2 separate regions of the Homo sapiens genome follow, and region 2 is linked to region 1. The links are contacts of gene promoters, found by promoter capture Hi-C in blood cells and fetal thymus (Javierre and others, 2016). All regions are on one chromosome and are shown on one strand. Each heading gives the region's core, a stretch centred on a gene start or on the middle of the fragment in contact. The rest is flanking DNA. Distances are from core to core; before and after follow the strand shown.

What was found. The method cuts DNA at HindIII sites, captures the fragments that hold promoters and counts their contacts. A CHiCAGO score of 5 or more calls a contact.
Region 2: a contact is called between a fragment that was not itself captured here and the fragment with the promoter of ZNF684 in region 1, in 1 of 17 cell types (non-activated CD4 T cells). The highest score is 5.3, in non-activated CD4 T cells.

Annotation. Positions count from the first base shown.
Region 1 is chr1:40,528,277-40,532,933 of GRCh38, forward strand. ZNF684 (zinc finger protein 684) reads left to right here and starts at 3,361. Exons shown (of 5, transcript NM_152373.4): 1 at 3,361-3,511. It overlaps LOC124904149 (a long non-coding RNA gene), which reads right to left and starts at 3,270. Exons shown (of 2, transcript XR_007066022.1): 1 at 3,212-3,270; 2 at 2,302-3,079. RefSeq lists an enhancer at 3,161-3,455. The HindIII fragment of the contact is 2,309 bases long and covers 2,215-4,523 here.
Region 2 is chr1:40,252,667-40,257,323 of GRCh38, forward strand. No RefSeq gene overlaps it. Among named protein-coding and RNA genes, the nearest start is that of ZMPSTE24, 3.2 kb to the right of the region's middle. The HindIII fragment of the contact is 1,425 bases long and covers 2,025-3,449 here.

The DNA.
Region 1 (4,657 bases), core at 2,111-4,610:
TAATAAGAGGTAGTGCACTGATTCAAATCCAGGCAGTCTATCTCTGCAGCCCACACTGTTAGCCACTAGTATGTCAGAAATTCAAAACTTCAAAGTCAATGTCTAACCAACCCAGGAGCAGTGAACACCACCAGATGCCTGATCAAGGTCTTGAAATACCATCTCCCATTAAAAAGAGCCAGGTTCCTTGGAGAAATGGCTGATTTAAGGTCTGGGTCAGGAAATGAACAAGAGAAACCTGAAGCACCTTGTCATATAGATAACAAGCTATTGAAGACTAATAGGATCATTCCAAAAGAAGAGGACTCTCAAGAGCCAACTTAAAGAGGCTCCCAATGGCCAAAGATGTGACAGTTTGAATATCAGTAGGGATAACAATAGCAATAGATTGAAGCACATCAAACATGTTTAAATCTATGAGTTCATAATGATGCTCAAAAATTGGTCATGTTTAAGAGATAATTGGGATGTTAAGTTGAAAACTGGTAAATAAATTTTTTTCCTGACATTCCTATGTGAACTGTATACCTGAATAACTACATAGTACATGATATGAAGTTCCTCTTTATAGGAATAATCCAGCTGCTAAATGACAAAGGAATGATAGAATTAGAGTGTCCCTTTTTTACAACCTCTAAAGTTGTGGTATGATCATAGCTGACTGCAGCCTCAAACTCTTGGCCTCAAGCAATCCTCCCTCTTCTTCAGCCTCCCAAAGTGATGTGGTTACAGGCATGAGCCACTGTGCCCAACGTTTGTACTTAATTTTTTAAAAACTCTAAAAGAAATTGCAATTATGAGAAAATTGATAATTTGAACAATGACTCAATGTTTGATGATGTTAAGGAAATATTGTTAATATTTTAGATGTGATAATAATATGGTTTTTTAAGTCTTTATTTTTATTGGTGAAATTATATGCTCTGGGATTTGCTTCAAAATACTATGCAATGGGGTTGGGGGTAGAGATGAAACAGAATTGGCCCTGAGTTGATAATTATTGGAGTTGGGGGATGGATACATGGAAGTTCACCACTATTCTTTCTACTATTGCATAGTTTAAAATTACCATAATGAAATGTTTTGTAAAATTAAATGCCTAATTTTTGGGTTGCACAAAATACATACTGTTTCTAATAAAAATACATAAGTAATTTGGTCCAAAATACTTTAGATATTAAGATGTAATGAATTTATTCTACTACCCATGTCTTTAATATATGTCCTTTCTGTTGAGAGAGAGGAGAGGAGAGGGGAGGGGAGGGGACGGGAGGGGAGGCAGAGAGAGAGAGATGTGTTTATTGCATAGAAAATGCTAGTAAAGTCAGTGGGTACTAATATCACTTGATCTTAGCCAAAAGGCTGAGAAGCGATAATGGCTACTAATATCAAGCCAGTTCTTAATGGTGCCAGGCAATAGTACTACATTTCCTTAATCTATTCACTTGCTCACATTCATAAATCATACTTTATCGAATCTCAGATGCCATTGATTATAAGTTGTATTATTATTTTATATACTAATAAAAAACAATGCTCCTGATTAAACTATGGAATGCCATCACTTGTAAGACAGCAATTTCACAGATGTTAAAATATGAAAAAATCATGTTTCAAAATCATCATAATACGGTATTCATCTTTTCTGTCAAGTCTAAAATACTTTCCCCCTATCTTCATTTCAGCTTCCTATTTCACTGGGAAAATAGAAGCACTCAGAACAGGGCATCCTCTTTCTCCTACCACCATATTTGTCCACCTGTTTGGATCTGTACTTATAAACTCTGCCTCCCCTTTTATTTCAATGGAGATGAATTATCCATACTCTTACTTAGAATGATCCCTGTGATTGTGTACTGGATTCCATCCCTTCTCTTCTCAAGGACATTCCTCCGAGTAACTAGCCTGTCTATCCTGAATTGTGTATTTCCCGCCTCTACTGGATCTTTTGTTTTATTTTATTAACTAATTCATTTATTTGAGACAGAGCCTCGCTCTGTCGCCCAGGCTGGAGTGCAGTGGTGTGATCTCGGCTCACTGCAACCTCTGCCTCCCGGGTTCAAGTGATTCTCCCGCCTCAGCCTCCCAGGTAGCTGGGTTTACAGGCGTCTGCCACCACGCCCGGCTAATTTTTGTATTTTTAGTAGAGACGGGGTTTCACCACGTTGGCCAGGCTGGTCTCCAACTCCTGACCTCAGGTGATCTGCCCACCTAAGCTTCCCAAAGTGCTGGGATTACAGGCGTGAGCCACTGCGCCCAGCCTAGATCCTTTTAATTAGTACATAAACTTACTATAATTTCTTCCATCTTTTTTATTTTATTTTTTTGAGACAGAGACTAGCTCTGTCGCCCATGCTGCAGTGCAGTGGCGGGATCACGGCTCACTGCAGTCTCTACTGTCTGGGCTCAAGCGATCCTCCCATCTCAGCCTCTCAAGTAGTTGGGACTTCAGGCGGGTGCCATGCCAGGCTAGTTTTTTATTTTTTGTAGAGATGAGGGTCTCACTATGTTGCCTAGGCAGTTTCAGACTCCTGGGCTCAACCAATCCTCCCACTTTGGCCTCCTGAAATGTTAGGATTACAGGCATAAGCCACCACACTCAGCCCCATCTTTGAATTAAAAAAAAAAAAAAAATTAGAACGTGGAAAAACGCAACAACAAAAGATTAACAAAATCCCTATCCCATGATAGCCTTATTTTTCTGCTCACCTTAAAAACAAAACTTCTTAAAAGTATTGCGTATATTTGCTTTCTCCATTTCCTCTCCTCCCATCCTTCCCTCCAACTCCTATCAAATTTTCATCAGACTTTATCAAACTTCCACCACTGCCAAAATGGCGTTTCAACATCACTGGTGACCATTGCTACAGTGGCCCATTCTTAATTCTCATTTTACTTGACCTATGAGCAACATTTGAGACAATGGGTCACTCCCTTCTTGAAACACTTCCTTCCCTTGGTTTTGCAGATCTAAACTCTCCTACTTTTCCATCTACTTCATGGATTATTCCTTCTCAGTCTTCTTTGTTGGATCCTCTTCACCTCTCCGACTTAACCTGGTGCATTGCTAGAAGAAACCCTGCTGAGTAAGAGCAAATTGTTTTTAGCATACCGCCGATTTTACTTTCCAGTATTTAAAAATGCTGTGTATCCTTTTAAATGAAAACGACTTAAAAAGCGTGGCTCTCAGGCTAGCAATAGAGATACCAACCCGGGAATCTCCGCACCACCCCCCAAGAGGAAGCAGCGTCTGACGTCTTCCGGAAACGAGCTCCACTGGCCTTATGGGAAATGTGGTCTCCGACGGATGGCCTACACCCGGGAGGAGTCCAGGAACTCTAGGTGGACAGTTACTTCCGCACACGCGTAGTAGGACGGTAGCCGGTATTCAATCTTCAAATCAGCGCCGCGGGAAGTGCGGGCGGGTGTTGCTCCCCTGTCTCTGGACGACGCTGTGACTGATCCCAGGCTTGGAGCCGGAGCTGCGAGCGAGGCAGTGAAAGGGTGGCAGGTATGGCTTTGCTGGACTCGGAGGACGTAAGAGAAAGGCGGGGACTGGCTTCTAGGTTTACCCTACCGAAGATAAAACTTTAGTCTCCAAGCGCAGTGACTTCAGGTTTGGATATGTGGGTCCTGTTCAACTCGAGTAGCTGAGAGAAAGCAAGAGTTGGGCTCCGACTGGCACTGGGTAGATGTCCAGGGCTCTGGTGGGACTGGGAGAGGCTCAATTTGCATTCCTGCTCTTGTAGGTCAAGGTCACTATGTAGGAGTCTGTTCATCTAACTGTACCTTTCCTGGTTCCAAGAGCATAGTTGGCCCGACTGGAGCCTGCGACAATTTTAAGCCGTGTCAAGGGATCCAGTGGAAACTGTAAGCTATTTCAAGGGATCCAGGAAGAAAGCATTCTTGAGAAACTGCTATGGATTAGAAGGGTATTCTCAGCAATCATTTGAAGTAAATGCTATTACCATTTTGCATATGAGTTAACTGAAGCTGAAAGGTGAAATTACTTGCCTGGACTCACACAGCTTAGTAAGTGGAAGAACTGAGATTCAAACTCAGATACATTTTCTCCAAATTTCTTTTTTTTTTTTTTTACAGTATAGCATTCCTGCATAAAACAGAGTTGGGTTTATTCTCCTGAAATGTTTGAGCAATGAATGCTGAGTAAATTTCGATTTGTAGTCATTTTGTAGAGTCTCTTGGTGTATCTGCAGATCTTCCAGTGCAGACTGTGTAAATGAAGATGTGAGTCCCCGGTTTGCCCATTATACCCTTTCTAGAGCCCCAGCAGTTCTAAGCTCATAGGAGATGGCGAGTTTCTACAGAGAGAAACATTTGGAGTTTAAACTGAAGGATCCAGCTTAACAAAAAAAAAATAAAAAAAAGTGTTCCTGGGTCCCTGAATCCAGCCTTCTCAAGAAAGCCCAACCTAATTTGCAATCTCTTATCCCAGCGTCAGAGTAGAAACCAGAGAATCACAGGAAGGAATCATTTTTAGACTTACGGAGCTTCAGAGACCAAGCTTTTAAGTGAGTCAACTCATTCATTATTTCTTCAGGATAAATTTCTGGGAGGAAAAAAAATAACTGTTTCAAGAGGAACCACTTGGTGCTAGATCAGTAGGACAGAAACATATAACATCCTTATCTAAGCT
Region 2 (4,657 bases), core at 1,487-3,986, 280 kb before region 1:
CCTGGGAGGTGGCAAAAAATGGTTCTCTCAGCAGGCCTCAGATTCCACCAACCTTATAGTGTGTGCATTTTTGCCCCAATAAATGAGATCATGGTCATCTGAAACACTGTGTAACTATCTGGCACCTAAATGAAATATTTCATACCCACAGAGGAGGTCTACAGAAAAAAAACATTTCATCTGGTATGCAGATAAAGTGATTTGTTGCCTTCCTGGAGAAAAACTGGCTATGCTGCTCAACAAGACACAATGTAAGGCTGGGTGCAGTGGCTCACGCCTGTAATCCCAGCACTTTGGGGGGCCAAGGCAGGAGGATTGCTTGAGTTCAGGAGTTCGAGACCCACCTGGGCAACATAGTGAGACCTTATCTCTACAAAAAATAAAAAAATTAGCTGGGTGTGGTGGTGCACACCTGCAGTCCCAGATACTCAGGGGGCTGAAGCAGGAGGGTCACTTGAGCCTAGGAGATTGCTGCAGCAAGCAGCCTGGATGGCAGAGTGAGACCCTGTCTTTAAAAAAAAAAATAGCAGTCTCCAAAGGGGCATCTTCCTAAGGGAAGGGTAATCTTGACCATTTGTAATTTCTGCCTGATCCACTGGAGTTAAAATGCCACCCCTGGATGAGACTTCACTGTATCGTGTACTAAATGCAAAAACAGGTGGGTGAATACAGGGTGGGGCCAGGAAAGGCTTTGCAAAGGAAGTGACATCGAGGTGTCCCATAAATGATTACATAGGCAGACAAAGAAATGGAAGATAATATTCCTGAGCGGGATCATCATGGAAGTATATTTTTATTTTTATTACTTTTTGAGACAGAGTTTCGCTCTTGTTGCCCAGGCTGGAGTGCAGTGGCGCGATCTCAGCTCACCGCAACCTCTGCCTCCCAGGTTCAAGCGATTGTGCTGCCTCAGCCTCCCGAGTAGGTGGGATTATAGGCGCCCGCCACCATGCCTGGCTAACTTTTTGTATTTTTAGTAGAGATGGGGTTTCACCATGTTGGCCCGGCTGGTCTGGAACTCCGGACCTCAGGTGATCCACCCGCCTTGGGCTGCCGGAGTGCTGGGATTACAGGCATGAGCCACTGCGCCCGGCCCAGAAGGATATATATATATGTATATTTTTTGAGACGGAGTCTCGCTCTGTTACCCAGGCTGGAGTGCAGTGGCGCAATCTTGTCTCGCTGCAACTTCAGCCTCCCGGGTTCATGCCATTCTCCTGCCTCAGCCTCCCAAGTAGCTGGGACTACAGGCACCCGCCACCACGCCTGGCTAATTTTTTGTATTTTTAGTAGAGACAGGGTTTCACCGTGTTAGCCAGGATGGTCTCGATCTCCTGACCTCATGATCCACCCGCCTCGGCCTCCCAAAGTGCTGGAATTACAGCCGTGAGCCACCGCGCCCGGCCAAAAAAGAAGAGTTTTGAAGAGTAGACTGATGTCAGGTAATGAAGGACCTCGAAGGTCATACCATATATACCATATATAGGTTGGGCTTTATACTATCATAAATGGACCATTACAGGGTTTTTGTTTTTGTTCTTTTTTAACAGGGAGTAACACAGAATTAGTAGCCTATATGAGAGACAGAACGTATGAGCTAGAAAGTAGAATGAGCTAGATGCAAAAGAAATAACAGCTGCTCTTGTAAGGGTACCCAGGCTGGAGTGCAGTGGTGTGATCTCCGCTCACTGCAACCTCCGCCTTCCGGGTTCAAGCGATTCTCCTGCCTCAGCCTCCAGATTATACGCGTCCACCACCATGCCTGGTTTTTTGTCTTTTGTTTTTTTTTTTGTATTTTTAGTAGAGATGGGGTTTCGCCATGTTGGCCAGGCTGGTTTCAAACTCCTGGCCTCAAGTGATCCACCCACCTCGGCCTCCCAAAATGCTAGGATTACGGGCGTAAGCCACTGCGCCCAGCCAAGGGGGATCATTCTTTTCTTGAGGCCAGAGCACTTATGGCCAGAGTTTCAATTAAGGGACCTTGAATGCTTGGTAAGCAGAGAATCAAGGCAAGATAGGGAAAAAGCTTGAGAGCAACTCTATGATTTAGGTTAGACAGGGTAGATGGACTACCCTACAGCAATGTCTATCACTCTAGGGATAATAATCTTTATCTTTCAAATTCAGTCATTTTATTTATTTTTATAGAGATGAAGTCTCACTGTGTTGCCTAGGCTGGTCTCGAACTCCTGCACTCAAGCAATTATCCCACCTTGGCCTCCCAAAGAACTGAGATTACAGGTGTGAGCCAGCACACCCTGCCAGTCTTTCTCCTTTAGCAAAATCCTGCCAACAGCCTGTTTTGAGGTTCCCATTTTTAGACTCCACACAGGCCAGCCCTTCTATTAGTACTGTCTTTCTGAAAAGAGAAACAAGTGATTATTCACTTTCCATAATTCACTAGTTCTCCACTGCCACCACATTAGTCTGCACTACCATCTCTCACCTGGATTCTTTTTTCTTTTTTTCTGATATCCTTGGCAACTGCTAAATCACCTGGATTCTTGAAATGGCCTCCTAACTGCACTCCCTCCTTCCATTCCCCATTAAATTTATTCTCCACGTTGTAATGAGAAGGATTGTCTGCTCAAAACTCTGCAATGCTCTGCTCAAAATCCTGCAATGGCTTATTCTTTCATTCTAAGTAAAAGTCTTTTAACTAAAAGACTGCATGATGGCATGGATCTGCACTCCCCCTCTTCCTTACTCTTTCCACAGCCTCTTGCCATTCCTCAGATATGATAAGCATTGGCCAATCTCAGGGCCTTTGCACTTGCTCTTCACTCTGACTGGCAATTTCCTCAGATATCCACACAGCTTGTTCTCTTACTTTTTTTGGGGGACTCAAATGCCAGTTAATCTGAGAAGGCTTCCTTGACCAACTTATGTAAAGCAGCATCCCTCACACCAACATGCTGTATTGCCTTTTTGCTGCTTTTTCTTCATAGCACTTATCACCACTTCCACTTTTACTATTAAATATTTGCTTATTATTTATCAAACACTGCATCCACCCCAGCTAAGAATGTAAGCTCCAGGAGAGGGGCTTTGGTTCACTGCTATATCCCTGGCACCTGGAAATGCGTCTGGCATTTCGCAGACATTCAGTATTTATTGAATGAATGAATTCCAGTCAGTCTTGGCTTTTTGACACCTCGGCCTCCTACTCTCCTATCTCTTCAGACACATGGTGACAGATCAATGCTATGATGCCCCTCTCCCAAGCAGTAGCTAACCTTTATTGGGCACTCAGGGCCATCTACATTGCTAGGAGCTTTACATGAATTTTCTCATTTGATCCTAACAGTATGAGAAAGTAAGTACATACTATGTTATTCTCATTTTACTGATGAGGATCTGATGCACAGATTAAAGAACGTGCTAATACATGGTGCGGCCGTGGCTGGCAATCAAGCAGCTTGACTCTAAACCTGTGCCCTTAGCCACAAAGCTTGGGTGGTAGAAGCTCCTGTGAGGCTTTGGACTCACAGACAGCTGAAGTCAAGAGTGAAGAGGGCATAGCAATGATGGCCTGAGGGAGAGAAAATTTTGAAAAAGTGTTTACCCCTTATATATTTAAGTTGGTATCTAACTGGTTCCATCATAAATTCAAATAGTTGCAATGGATGTAAATTCTTGCAAATTGTAAATACTGACATTTTAAGATAAAACTGTTAAATCACTCTTTATAATGTATCCAAGAGAATCTACATAACAACTGAATAACCACCATTATGCATTAAAACATACACTAATGAGCTCTTCAACATTGTTCTTTTATTATCTCTAACATATTTAGATTGTACTCTAACAAAAAATGTTATTCAAATATAGTACTTTGATGTTTGAACAACCTTTTCTTGATCACTTCTTCGCAATAAAAATATGACATATGTAGTAAACCTTAAAAAATTTCGTGTAACTTTATGGCTCTACGCTGGAATTCTTCTGAAGTGAGTAATCATCACAATCATCTTTAGTATATAATGGATCAAAATGACACGATTGCAAATATTGATAACACACAGTTATAAAAGGTGAAATTCTATTGGGAACACATCTCTTAGTGAGATAGATGGGGCTGACCCACCAATTAATTCATTTATCTGGATGAATAGTTCCTACTGGTAGATTAACAGGGTTCATTTTCAATTCTGTTGTTTTCACAGATACAAGTGCTGAGAAATGGTTTTACATAAATAGGTGAGAATGCTAGTAGTTTTGTTGTAAGCATGTCAATCAATCGTTTGGTTTCTTTCCGAGTTGCATGCCAAAAACCAAATAGTGTTCCTTCATCAGCTGACAATTCATGGGCCACCATTAATTTTGTTGAAAGCAAAGAACTGGAAACCATCTGACTTGAAAAGAATTTGTTATCCTGTTATTAGAGTCATTCACTTTCTCTAGTGACTTTTAATTATACTAATTACTCTCAGAGGCATTTAGGCAGGGTTGAGAAATTCAAGATATTAATTTCAACACATCTTTAGCATCACAATATCACAGTAATTTAAATATATTTTAGTTGTAGCTATTTAGCTCACTTTATTGTAAATAATAATTATGCTAATTAGCAACGATAGTATGTTTAACCAATTAATCATCAGATTAACTTTCGGTCAGAATAATGGACTTCAATTTTTAAGTCAAAGCAATG